3 separate regions of the Homo sapiens genome follow, and regions 1 and 3 are each linked to region 2. The links are contacts of gene promoters, found by promoter capture Hi-C in blood cells and fetal thymus (Javierre and others, 2016). All regions are on one chromosome and are shown on one strand. The core of a region is centred on a gene start or on the middle of the fragment in contact, and the rest is flanking DNA. Distances in the headings are between cores, read along the strand shown.

What was found. Contacts are between HindIII fragments. The CHiCAGO score rates a contact against its expected background, and 5 or more counts as called.
Region 1: a contact is called between a fragment that was not itself captured here and the fragment with the promoter of TRPS1-AS1 in region 2, in 1 of 17 cell types (M0 macrophages). The highest score is 5.4, in M0 macrophages.
Region 3: a contact is called between a fragment that was not itself captured here and the fragment with the promoter of TRPS1-AS1 in region 2, in 1 of 17 cell types (M2 macrophages). The highest score is 5.1, in M2 macrophages.

What each region holds. Positions count from the first base shown.
Region 1 is chr8:116,438,571-116,443,182 of GRCh38, forward strand. All of the region lies in intron 2 of LOC102723447 (a long non-coding RNA gene), which reads right to left. Among named protein-coding and RNA genes, the nearest start is that of LINC00536, 120 kb to the left of the region's middle. The HindIII fragment of the contact is 2,253 bases long and covers 1,786-4,038 here.
Region 2 is chr8:115,506,820-115,511,418 of GRCh38, forward strand. It overlaps TRPS1-AS1 (TRPS1 antisense RNA 1), which reads left to right and starts at 2,784. Exons shown (of 2, transcript NR_186605.1): 1 at 2,784-2,907; 2 at 4,230-4,506. The region is part of intron 5 of TRPS1 (transcriptional repressor GATA binding 1); the gene reads right to left. The HindIII fragment of the contact is 3,034 bases long and covers 1,024-4,057 here.
Region 3 is chr8:116,456,213-116,460,880 of GRCh38, forward strand. It overlaps LOC105375711 (a long non-coding RNA gene), which reads left to right. Exons shown (of 3, transcript XR_928551.3): 2 at 973-1,040. Among named protein-coding and RNA genes, the nearest start is that of LINC00536, 130 kb to the left of the region's middle. The HindIII fragment of the contact is 7,245 bases long and covers 1-4,668 here.

The sequences.
Region 1 (4,612 bases), core at 1,662-4,161, 930 kb after region 2:
TCGCTATTCTTCATGCCCACATGGATGAAAGTCATGGCATGACATTTATTGAGCCTGAGTTTCTACAGATTCTCAGCATCTGGCCTGCATCTGGGCCCCCTCAGAAGGGTGCCACTGATCACCAGAATTATTTTCTTCTTCTCAGAGCTGCCTTCTCCAGCCCATAAACTTTCAGTGTCTCCAGTTCTTGCTTCTCTTTTGTGGAAAGAGATTTCTTTTTCTGTGGTAGCAAGATATTGAGGATATCCAGAAGAAAGTTCATTCTCATTTTCAACATTTTCAAATAGGACATATAGGAGGTAACCCACACAGCAGAGGACATGGGCTTATGCCACAGAATCGGTGCCTCTTCTTAGAGAAGGGAGGGTCAAAGAGATCAATGATTAGTATCAATCTTTAAGTATTTACTATGTGCCAAGTGCTATGCAAAGCACTCTACATATAGCATATCATTATATCTTAACACCACTTTGAAGCAGGTATCATTATCTTCACTTTAAACATGAAGGAATTATGGCTTGAAAAGCTTAGATAACTCACTAAATTTCTTACAGTGAATACATAGCAAAATCAGAATTCAAACCCAGATCTGTCTGACTCCAATGGTTTGAATCACTCTATCAGATAATGAGAACTCCTGAATTCCTGGATATCTCTCTCTCTTTCTCTCTCTCTCTCTTATTTTCCAAACTCTTAAATGTAAAGTTGATCTATTTACAGACTGAAATAGAACTCACGTGCCCTAGACAACAACTACAGCCTCCGACAGTCTTATTCAAAACGGTATTTAGGATGTTTGCTACCTAGAGCTATGGATTATGACAAGAGCCCAGTGAGCTAGAAATAAAGAAGAACTCAGACTTGGTTGAAAAGCTTTATTTTTAACTGCACTGGCACATCTGTATTTCTATAAACCTGGCCGTTTCCTCTCATTTATCCACACCTGATATAAGCCTAACCTTTTGGTCTGTGGGGCTAGTGATTCTTCCCATCACTATTACATCTATTGATGGAATCCATCCAGATCACCACCAGGAATCTAACCACTAATCCTATTGTCAGTATAGCACAGTAGTTAAGAATGAGTGATTTGGTAGAGAATAGACTTGGGTTCAAATCCCAGCTCTGTCACTAACTAGCCCTACACTCATAGGTAAATCACAGCTTTCTACACCTCGTTTTCCTTTTATTTATTTATTTTTTTTTTGAGAGAGAGATGGAATCTCATTTCACTCTGTTGCCCAGGCTGGAGTGCAGTGGCGCAATCTTGGTTCACTGCAACCTCCGCCTCCTGGATTCAAGCGATTGTCCTGCCTCAGCTTCCCAAGCAGCTGAGACTACAGGCTTGCACCAATACGCCCTGCTAATTTTTTGTATATTTTTAGTAGAGATGAGATTTCACTATGCGTTGGCCAGGCTGGTCTCGAACTCCTGATCTCAGGTGATCTGCCCGCGATGGGTTCCCAAAGTGCTGGGATTACGGGTATGAGACATCTCGCCCCCAGCCTTCCCTTTTGTAAAGTGAGGATAACAGTACTTCGCAGGGTTGCAATAAAGACAATGAGGTAATGTCCGTAAATCTCTCAGCACAGTGGCACATAGTAAGCAGTCAACAAATGTTAGCTGTTAGTGCTATTACCACATAGCTCAGGGCACAAGTGACAATTAAAACCAAGGACAAACAACACAGACCAAAGCAATGAGCCCTTCACTCTCTGAGCTTCCAGAGAGATCTTAGCATTGTGCATTCCTCTGAACAGGGCTGATGCTGGGCAATCCGAGGAAAGCTTGTTGTTAGCACATCTACTCTGTTTCCTTATGGTCTCTGGGTGTAGTCCTCCAACTAGCCATGGCCTGTCACACCAGGCTCCTCTCCTGCCCCTGTTCCACACTCCATCTCAGCGGTCCCTCCAGTGGAAGCTCATGAAGATAATTTGTTGGAATAAGAAGAAGAAAATAGTAAGTTGTTCATTTATGTTTTTTATATTCCTTTAAACTTATATTTGATGTATTTATTTTTAAATGAAGATAATATTTGATTACATTAATATTTGTATTTAACCCATGCATACACATATAAATATATTTGGGATATGTGCTCAAGTTTTTTTGAACTAATAGGGTGTGAAATCTGGAAAAAAAATTGAAGGTTAGAGTTCTATGCCATTCCTAAAGGGATACAAGGTGATAAGCACAAGTGCTTTCCAGGGCTGTGCCCATAGACAAATGCATACAGCCAAAGGACGCAGTGGAGAAAATGGAGAACTGAAGAGTTTATGCCCAGCCTCCAGCTGTTCAAAATCAAAAATAGTCTGAACATGTGTAATTATATTTTAATAAACATTTCCTGAGGAAGTCCAAGTGGCAGGCATCATTCAGCCCATGGGGAGCAGCAGGGTGAGCCCCCCACCCCATGCCTTCTGCTGATTTCCACTGGTCGCTACTAACGTGTTACCTTTGAAGTCAGTACTGAGCCCTAACCCAGATTTTCAGGGCATCTTGAGTAGGACTCTGGGCTGGGAGTCAGAATAACTGGATTGAAATCCTAGCTCTCTTCCTTACTCGTGTGACCTCTCATTCATTAAGTCAGTTAACTCAGAGATTAAGTTTTCCTCATCTCTTTATGGAATAATAATACTCACTTCAAAGTGTGTTGTGACATCTAAGTAAGATGATGTATTTGCAAGGGCTTCAATGACTTCCATGACTGTTGAATGTAATTCACTCACCCCTGTGGCAGCTTAGATGAGAGTAGTGATTGATTTATGGGGTAACACTAGTTGACGGTCTACTATGTGGAAGAGAAAGGAGAACTATTCTGTGTTATCCCAGGTGGAAGAATCCAAAATAAAGAAGAATTTGGGGAACAGAATGAAAACTCTGCACTATCTTGCCAAATATTGGATTCCCAATCACAGACATGTTCAAGTTGAGGTTATAAGTCTGGAAATTGTGTGAAGCAGGCTCAGATTTTGAATGAGAAGTTTGGAGTAAACAACTTTTACATTCCCTTCAAACACTCAAATTTTATCGTTCTAAGCCAAATAAAATGAGAACTAGTTAAAGAATAACATAACTTCCAGCAAATTCAGGCCCTCCTGCAGGTCAAGGGGAAAAAGAAAACTATCTGGGCACAGAGGTATCTTCAAATCACACAACTTAATTCATCTGCAAAGGACTTGAATCCACCTCGCGTATTTCCCTCAAGTACTTGCCATATAGAATAAGTTGTTTGACAATTCACTTAGCCTGTTGTCCAAGACTACTTGAATTATTCTACATACAGAGATGTGATACCAGGCGCTGCAGATGAATAAATCACATCAGCTATCGAAACCATATGCAACTCATTCACAAGTACGTTATCTTCAGCCCAGACCATGCCTTTGAGGGCCAGACCAATCTATTCAACCTATAACCTACCATCTCACTTCAACATTTCCTAAAATAAGTTTATCATCTTCCCCTTCCCCTCACCTTCTAGGCACCACTATTCATCTTTATTCCCTGCCCAGAAACCTAGGGGTCATCCTTGGCCCCACTTAGTCTTCTATTCCCCATATCCTGTGACTTTTCTTTATTATTATTATTTGAGACAGTCTCACTCTGTCGCCAGGCTGGAGTGCAGTGGCGCGATCTCGGCTCTTTGCAACCTCTGCCTCCCGAGTTCAAGCGATTCTCATACCTCAGCCTCCTGAGTAGCTGGGACTACAGGCACGCACCAACATGACCAGTTAATTTTTTCTTTTTTTGTATTTTTAGTAGAGACGGGGTTTCACCATGTTGGCCAGGATGGTCTCGATCTCCTGACCTCGTGATCCACCGGCCTCGGCCTCCCAAAGTGCTGGGATTACTTTTACATTCTAAATATCTCTTGAATATATCCACTCCTTTCTAGCTCTTTCATCACTACTACCTTAGACCAAGGTTTCGTCATCTGTTGCCTGGACCGCTATTACAGCCTTCAATGTCTTCCTCATCCACCCTTGCCCTCCTCCCATTGTTCGTTACCTGCATTTCCCTTCCCCTCTAAAACAAAGCTTCAGAATGAGCTACAAGTTGCTACAGTGTGTAGCTCTGACTCACCTCTCAGCCTTAGCGCTTTCCTGCTCACTTCACTCTAATGCCCTGTGAGTTCTTATTCATTCTTCAGATCACTACTTAAGCATCATTTCCTCAAGGAAATTTTCTGTGACCTCTCTGACCAGCTCAAATGTGTCTATGTTAAGCTCTTAGAGCAACATGTAGTAATTGTCACAGATGCAGTTGCATATTTGTGTCATTCTTTTTATTAATGTGTATTTCCCCCTGTAAACTATAAAACACATGAGGGCAGGAACAGTGGTGCTTTTTGCTCAGGGCCTGGAACATAGTAGGTCCTCAATCAATAAATAGTTAATAGCTAAACAGATCAATAAGTGATGAATGAAAGCAAGAATGAATAATATATATTCTTGTGCGAGTCACTTCATCTCTCCACGCTTCATTTTAACTCTGAAATTTGGAGGCAGGGGAGTGGGTAAGGAATGAACAGGAGAGGGAATTAGATGGCATCTAGAATAACTGTTCTAAAAATTTTTGGTTCCAAATGCAAAATGTACAAAAAAAAAAT
Region 2 (4,599 bases), core at 1,534-4,033:
CACAAGTTTTTCTTCATGATTAACACAATTCACAAAATAAGAAATGGTATTTGGTCATTCTCTGAGTTCAATCTGTGCTCTAGTAAATATAACTTGTGAGGAAAAAGTAAAAAGGTCAAGAGTCTAATTCATTTTCAGTTTTTAAAACTATATTTTAAAAAAGAATGATTTGGGTTAAAAATAAAGATGGCTTAGTTTTATCTCCCTTACAGTAAGTAGCAGAAACTTGAGCTGAAAACACATAGAAGCTGTACTCATTTCTATTCACAAAGAACTGTTCTACTGTCTGTCTGCAAATAAATCTCCTCAGTAAATAGCTCCAAGGTTGAGCTAAAGAATACTGTATGGATCAAAGAATTCATGTCTTCCTGTGTAAAGTGAACAGGCTGCAAGCTCGTTCGTTTGTCTAAAACAATTAGGGCTCGTACGAGAAGAAGGGGGCTGGAACAAATAAGTTACAGCTGATTTTACTCTGCAAAATATATAAGGGGTTTTCAAATTAATAACCATTCAGGGTCCCCAAACAGCCTAATCTTTGTCAATTGGTGCCAAATTATGCAAGGTGCTGCCAATTCTGGTTGTCTAACAAATCAAGACCAGTGTATGTTACTCCTCGGCTGAAGCCTGATTGATTCTGGTCATTATATGGGCTGATCTCATTTTCACACATGGAATCAATATGTGAGCCAGATGTTCATTTACAGAGAAGCACAGAAACGACTCATCTACACGCAACTTTATCCCGGACCACAGAGCACCACAGACCCAAAGTCTCTCGTCACCCATACAAAGCTTCACACAGTACAAAAATCTATAAAACATTCCGCTAATATTACTGTCAGCTGAATGACTTTTACAGTACTATATAAAGTTGACAGATAATACATGCCAGTCCTAATTTGAGATAGACCTTTTCTTTTGGGACCTCAACCATTGAACAAGCAAACAGATTGAGAAGTAACATTTATTACAACACATAAATCATTTTCTTACAACTATTATATAGGTCTGGCCCGAGGGTGAAGCTTCTGCCTAGGCTGAGAATCCTAATGTACTGCTTAAGTCACTAAATTGTACTGTCATTGCATGATTGGTGTGCAGAGAAGAGCTAATCTAGCTTTTCAGAAACAAGTTCTTATCAAGATAATTTTTGTTCTTTGTTCCTTGAAAAAAATGCTAACAACTTGCCTGTCTAAAATAAAAAAGCAGAACATAAAATAAAAAATCAGAACATTGGTGACTCTTGAATAGTAATGACCACCTTAACATGTTTATTTAAATTAAGCCAATGTGCCCAGTTCATGTAGAAATTTAGTTCATGTAGAAATTAGTGCATGTTCAAAATGAGAACAAAATCTGTGTTTACTACAAAGATATACAAAGAACTTTTCACTCTGAAGATAAAACTTGATGTATATCACAAATATAATGGAATCAATATTGATGGCACGAACTTTCCTTTGAGAAATAAACGCCATTTTAAAGATTGAACAAAGAATATTAATAGAGAATCATCATACACAGCTTCAAGAATTTCGCCATTCTTTTTAGAGTTGACTGAAATAAAAATTCTCTACATTTCCTGTCAAATATTGTCGTAGTACTGTCCTCAGCCGAGGAAACGAATGTGCACTTCATGATACAGTAAATTTCTCTAATGCTCCTCTAATAGCACCATGTTGGAAACACATGAGTTACCTAACATGGTGAGCTTATATTTTATATCAGTTTGCTTTCCTCGATCATCTGATCATCTTGGCCTCCGTGGAGTCTTCTAATTGCATTTAGTTCTGTTCAGTTCTGCTTGAGGATAATCCAAAGGATGTCTGTTTTTCATCAGGTAACGACCATTAAATTTGGCTGCATTTCCTTCTAAATCTTGTTGAATGGCATAAGAAACAGAAGCTAGAAAACCTTTCTCTTGTAACTTTGCTATGGTTTCTGAACCTAGACCTTTCTAGAATTTTTGCTCACTACTGCAAAACTCTGAGGCCAGATCCTTTTGGAAGTGAGTCTAAATGGTCTCTAAACTTTGATCTACTTTCCCTGGGGGTACTTAAGACTTTGGGGCATCTTTCTGCATACCCTGGAAACATTTGGACTCTATGTAAAGTTGCCAGATAATTTCTAAAATGTTTTGAATTGTGAGTTTATGTTTAGGCAGCATTTGGGGCTTTCCTTCTCTTGAATTAAACAAACATCTTGGCCAATCAAATACTCTCCCTTAAAAAAAATCTTAAAATTCCTCTCTGTGGCTCCTTATACTGTATTAGTGTGTAAGGCTGGAAAGAAATGTGTCAGATCATTTCTTTTTTCCTGTATGACAACAACCTAGAAAAGTAATGATAAATGGAGTCTACAAGGTGTTTTCCCTGAAGCCGAACTCCTTATCTCTTTAAAGAGGTATAAGAGTTCCTATTGGAGCAGGACCTATTCCAGGCAAAGCTGGGAATCACACTAGGCTTCTATTTATTCATTTAATCATCATTTATGGAACATCTGTTAAGTGCTAGGAATGTTATTAAGTGTTGAGGCTATGGAGACAGATAAAAAATAAATACCTGTCATTAATGAACTCACTGCCAAGTGTGGGGAAGGGTTTGGTGAATATCTCAGGAATAATCAGTGAGTGTGGCACATGGCAGGTGAAATATGTTAGTTTAGGCCAAATATTAAACCTAAAGAATCCAATTCAATTTTTGTTGGTATTGTCAATTTTCTAATCATCTGCAATGCAGTAAATGGTTCCTTCAAGACTAATTAATGTTCTTATCATTTTACAGAAAAGAAAAGTAACCAAACCAGAATTTGCACTAGGGAAGTTTGAAAGAAGTTGATCCATTTTGAGAAGAGAGTTACAGAAAACAAATAAGGAACCCATTGACGTCCTAGTAGGCTGAGCTCGACGTGAGTGATTCTTCGTTCTTTGGATTCTCTCTCACTCAATATCCAGTGTCTCATGGTGCCTTAGGAATTTTCCTTCCATCTGTGTTTTATCTTTGCCTTTATCTCCAATGCCTAGGCCACCACTCTGCTGTCCTGCCTGCTGTAGCTTTACCCTGGAAGTACTCATTCTTCAACAGGTTTCCAGAGGTCTCTTCCCGCTGACCTCCACCTTTCCTGCCAATATTGCAGTAGGATTAACCTGCATGAAACATTTTTCTCATTTGTAAACATCAATGGTTGAACCCTGATTAACAAGGAAAATTCAATTTCTTAGCTTTGTATTCAAGATTTTTACTTCCCTGACTCCAATTCTATTTCCTAAATGGAAAAATCTCCTGGATTCAAATTAGCCTCTGTGCATCCTCCTCCAGCATCCACATTTTACCCAGTACATCCCACTTATCTTAGGCTCAATTCAATCGTACATATCCTAAGTAACAGCAAACCAACCTGTGTCATACCCTTTGCTTTATTTTTAAAGAAACACTGGATCTGTATAGCCATATAAACATATATTCCAGACTTGGCTGGTTATGGACTTATCCTTTATAATGCATTTTCAGTGGCCAAAGAGCCTTTTAAGAGTTCTTAAAATTGTGCAGTTGCAGACACTGAACTGATTGATCACTCATGCCAGGGCTCAGGTCATCCTTCTATAATTCAGGCTTTACTCCAAAAACTATTAATCTGTTCTTCCTAAGCTATAAATCTTAAGCTATCTATTAATAAAAGTCAGTTCTCTGGGGCTTCGTCTGTTAGACCCCCAAAAGAACATCGAACTTCTAACAATGACACTGTTTCTCAATCGTCAATTTCTTATTGAAAGAGATTTTCATTAAGATTGAAAATCTTTGGCATTGAGTCATGTTTCATCTTTGACCTTGGCTTTTCCCAATGTATTTCACATCCTGAAAATAAGCACCTTCTTTTACTTTTTTGCACAGCTCAACAAGTCAATTTGGAATTCAACACAGATGTCACGTTGCTTTATTTGTCAATATTAGATGATTCTTCTTGCCATACTGAAGCGTTTTGTGGAAGGCTATCTATCCTTTATCTCCATTTTGAATGCCAAGGTTATCAGAATTAGTTCCAGACACAGATATTAGAAAGCTTCATTCAACTGAAGAAATAAATGTAAAGAATTTTCAGGATGTAGTAAAGCAATACTTCATCACTAATTCATGCGCTTGTCTCAAGGACTATTAGTCTTATAGTAGTTTGTTTTACTTTTTTTGTTCTTTACAGTTATCCTTTATCAAACTATTTGGTTTTCCTTTTAGGTCACTTCTTCCACAGAGTATACACGTCAAGAACTTAAAAAGCATTAACTTCTGCCAGATATGAAATTATTGTCTTTCTGGTGGAGAAAAGGAGCCACAGAGAGGTTCTAGGTAAAACATGGACTTTTGTCTCTTTTAATGTGGATTATCTGCTAGAATAAAATTTAGTAGATGTCTATAAATTTTCTACATTACTAGAATGCTGTTCAATCAGATATTGTTCAAAATAAATCATACTGCTGCTGAGAAATATTTTTCTCAGGAGACAACCTAACCAGAATGATATGTGTGCATTGTATTGGCCTTTGATCAGCAGTACTTCTTCAATTTTGTTTTGGTCCATGCAAAAATGACCAACGCTCCCTGTTAT
Region 3 (4,668 bases), core at 366-2,865, 950 kb after region 2:
CCCAGCTACTTGGGAGGCTGAGGCAGGAGAATGGCTTGAACCCAGGAGGCGGAGCTTGCAGTGAGCCAAGATCGCCCCACTGCACTCCAGCCTGGCGACAGAGCAAGACTCCGTCAAAAAAAAAACAAAAACAGAAAAGGGCCCCAGCACAGAGGCAAAGGCTTCGGATCTTGAGAACACCCTCCAAGTGATGGCACAATAAATAAAAGGAATTACTAATAATACACAGGGGATCCCTCTACTCATGCATAAAGCTAGGATTCTAAGACCCTGAAAGTGTGTGTGGCTAAGACCTCCTGCAAAGCACAACTTGAAAACATACCTCCAAAAGTCTGCATTGTGCGTGTACTGCATGCCATCTCACACCCATCAGTAGGACATGTGCTTCGAGTTGTTTTCACAGTAGTAATTATGGCTCACACTCAGCTATCTACACCCTCTAGACTGGCTTCATTGGTGACCAAGGACTCACATTTGTTAAACAGCTGGACAAGAGCAGAGGTGCCAAGTCTTCTAACAAAACAATTTATCTCACTTCAAAACTAAAGCGTATTAGAAATCAAACCTTCATCCTCAGGTTCATTATCATCAATGTGGCTGCCAGTACTATCCTATCAGTTACTTCATTATGACGACTTTGAAGCAGTTTATTTAAGATTCATTGTTGCGGTCATAAGTTGAAAGGAGCTAGAGGAAGATGGAAGAGAGGATGGTCAAGAGAAGATTATTTACTTAATTCTCACCTTTGTGTGTGGGATATTATCCCACCAGGACTCTATGGATTTAGAGAAAAAGGCTGAGTTCATTGATATGAATCAATTTAACCTACAAGGAAGGTGAAATACCTAAGTCTGAGCCTATCTCCCACAAACTCTATCTTCACAAAGTGAAATCTAGGTCATTTATTTCTTGAACTCAATAGACACTGAAGCAGATGACCCTGTCATTCCCATCTCTCATATTCCCTTCCAGGTGGAGGACAATCATTGGCACAGTGCTCTTGGCTCCTCTCCATCCTCTCACTCCCTCCGCACTGACTGGTGAGTTTGGAATGAGAATGAAGACCTCTGTCACCTCCTCTAGGGAGCAAGCTCTTAGGAGGGAACACATGTTCTCTGGTCTTCTTGTGTGAAGCCAGTGCCGAGGCCAGTTGAAAGGATAAACCTGGCTCCTTGTGGAGTTGTCCAAGAGGAAGCCACAGACACATGCCTTAGTCTTCATTCTTGGTTCCATCAATCATAAAAGTGATATCTTGATCTCCACTTCTTTTACTGCTTGATTTTCTCTCTTAATTGGTTCAGCTCTTAAGCAGGGAAGATGGCTGCTATTTCTTGCCCTATGCCTCTATGACCCTCAAATTTTCCCTTAGCATCTAATCATTTAGACTGAATCAACCAGGTAACCAATTCTAGCAGTGTCACAATGAAATGCTGGAGCTGGAAAGAATCTTCAGAAGGCTTTGAAATCAATCTCCTCCCTTTCAATGTAATAAGGTATCATGCAATAGCACTAACTGGGCACTTAACATGTCCTCCTTTGCCCAGCAATTCTTTAACATACGTCATCTATTACCAATAGTCCCATTTTGTAGATGAAGAAAGTTTTCAAATTTGAAACAGGTCATATAACAATCAGTGGATGAAAGCCAGGTTTGTTTAAATGCAGAGACCCCTAGATTAATGTAGGTCATGAGTCTTTATGTCACCAGGTGGATGCTCACATTCTGCTTAAAGATCAAAGACAATAGTTGATTGAAGGAGCATTAGAGAGCAAGGTTCATAATGACACATTTACAAGTTCAAGGGTGACTAGAGCCTTGGGGCCAGCATGTCTTCACTAAAAGTCTTTCCCAGTCTGAGCATGACACTAAAACCCTGAAACTTGTCAGTATAAAGCATTGTTCCAGCAGTAAATGCAGGAAAAAAAATGTAAGCTCTGCTGGGCAGATTGACTAGGGAAATGTGGTGCTTCTATCAGAAGTTTGTACTTTTAAGATTCCCTTGTGTTTTAGTGGCACCAACACACAAAGGGAATGAGGCCATTTTGATCTCCAATAATGAGAAACATGGCTGACTTTCAGACCTGAAACTATTTAACACAAGTTAATTTTTCAAACAAATCTGGAATGAAATGAGGGAGAAAAAATAATCTTATGATGGGAGACATCAACTAATGGATTACATTTCTTTCTTCTCAATTAGAAATGGCAGAGGGGTTTTCATTATTTTTCCTTAGCATCAAAACATATCTACACAAAAACACAGCAAATATGTTATAAACTTATTTAAGCCAAAGAGCTCGTCAACACTGTTTGCAATTATGAAATCATTTGGGGATATGGTATTTTTTTGGAAGGAATTGTTTTTCTCTTAGATGCAAACCACATCACAGCCCGTCAGACATAAATCTTTTATTGTATCTTCAAGAGCAAAAATGTAAATTGTGCAACAAAGGCGCCACTGATAAAATGCAACTAGTCCCCCAGAATCATCTGGGTGATCTCATTATTTAGGGGAGATAACAGGAAATGTCATGCTTTTAAAAATGCTCTTTTGGGGGAAAGAATGTTGAAATTAAATGCTGCCTAAGGAATTCCAAAGAAGAATTATTGGGAACTCTAGCTCCCCAATGCCATATGTTATCACAAGCACGAAAGGAAAAGGAGGCTTTTTTACAGACTTCTTTGTCATTCGGTGAGCAATGAAGGGCTTGGTAGAGATGTAATAAAGCAATATAATACACTTGATAAGAGCACAGCTTCAGAAGCCAAACTACCTGCATCTTTCTTCAGGCCCTGCCACTTAACAACTGTATAATCTAACCTATCTGTTCTTCAGTTTCTTTGCCTAAAACTGGGGAAAAGAACAAGAGACCAACTATTCTTATTAAATGATATAAATGTAAAACTTAAATATATATTCTGTAGATGTTTATTATCATCATAATTATCACCATCATTATTATCATTATGTAAGTTTTCAGCAGGAATATACGACAGAATATTAGACTTAAGTCATAGTCTAGAAGTGGTGCAGGGTCAGATAAGAGCGTCCGAAATAGGAATTTACACACTCAAAAACCAGAGCCAGAAAACCAAAAAGAAGAATAAAATGAGCTAGGAACTCAAAGGGCAATTTGGGTCATGAAGAAAAGTCCAAGGATGACAACTTCAGAACGGTGTCTATGGTTCAACTATTGTTTCTGATTCAACCTTATCATACCAGAGATATGTCATAGAATCATTCTTCCTTTGTCATCTTCATCTAATCAATTACCTGTCCCTTACCTTATTCTGGGTTCTGAAATCCTTATCTTCAGTTAATATAGAGAACACAGACCCCAGCCATGATGGACTTGGATTCAGCAGCATGTCCCCAGTTCCTGAGAGGCATGGCAAAGGGGTGATTACAAGACAAGGGCCAACATTGGGGTAAAAGGCAAATATTTTCTCACAGGAAGAAACAAAAGCTCAGAGTCTGAATCCAAGAAGATAGTCACTGTCAAATCCACAACAACTTTATGTTCATGGAGTTGATGATGATTTTACCCGGGAATTATTTTTAAAAGTCAATTTTGAGGCTTCATATGAATCACAATCCTTGGAGATGAGTTTAGAAATCTGAAAAATGTTTCCCAGGATATTTTCATACACATTAAACTTTGAGGACAACTGGACTAGAAGCTGAGCTGCTCTAGGGCACGAGATCTCAGGAAATGTAGCAGGATCAATCAATCGACAAGAACCGTAGGAGTCAGTCAATTATTACATGCATGGTCCGATCCTCCAAACACCTTCAATGCGAATTTTATTAGATTCAACACTTTCAACTCTTCACCATCTAATGAAGGCTATTAGAAATTGTGGGGAGCAGAAATAACTTGTGATAGAATTCTATTTCCCTCATTATAGAATGAAAATTTCAGTGTAGTGGTACATTAGACTCAATTGTGTTGACTGTTAAACTTTGAAGACTTGCCCCCTTTGGGATCCACCATTATCCAAGGACGATAGGATAAGACTAAAAAGTAGGAAGATGAAATTACTGCATGGGACGGTGGGGGGAGGGAGTTGCAGCAGAAATAGGAAACAGACAAACACACTAAGCCTTGGATGGTATTTCCAGCATTGAACCAAGTAAGAAATATCTCTGAGAATTTGAAAGGTTTTCAAGTGGAATAAGAAAACAATGAAATGAACTAACATTTACTGAGCACTTGTATGTGAAACTAGGTGTAGATACCATGCAGGACTTTTCTACTCTCTAAGTTAACACCTTGCCTGTGGCCCTCTCCTGAAGGAAATTGCCATGCATGTCATCCCGGATATGGTACAACCATGGCGAACTTTTGAAATAGGACATTCTATCATGCCAGGTGGGCCCTAGGCACAATAAAACACCTGACACAGGGGCAGATAAACTACTTCCTGCCCAACAGCCTATGGGGTCACCTAATTCAAAAGTTCTACTCTTACCTAGCAATTAAACAGACTACTCAGATTCCCTTGGAGATTTGTACTAAAGACGTGAGTTTCTCCTTTAATCCTTACCTTGACCTGACAGTACTAGAGATTCTCTTTTCGTTTTAATAATGAGCAGGTGGGAGCTGAGTGAGGATAAACAATATTCCATGTTAGAAAGATGTAACCTCAGATCTTTGTGATGCCAA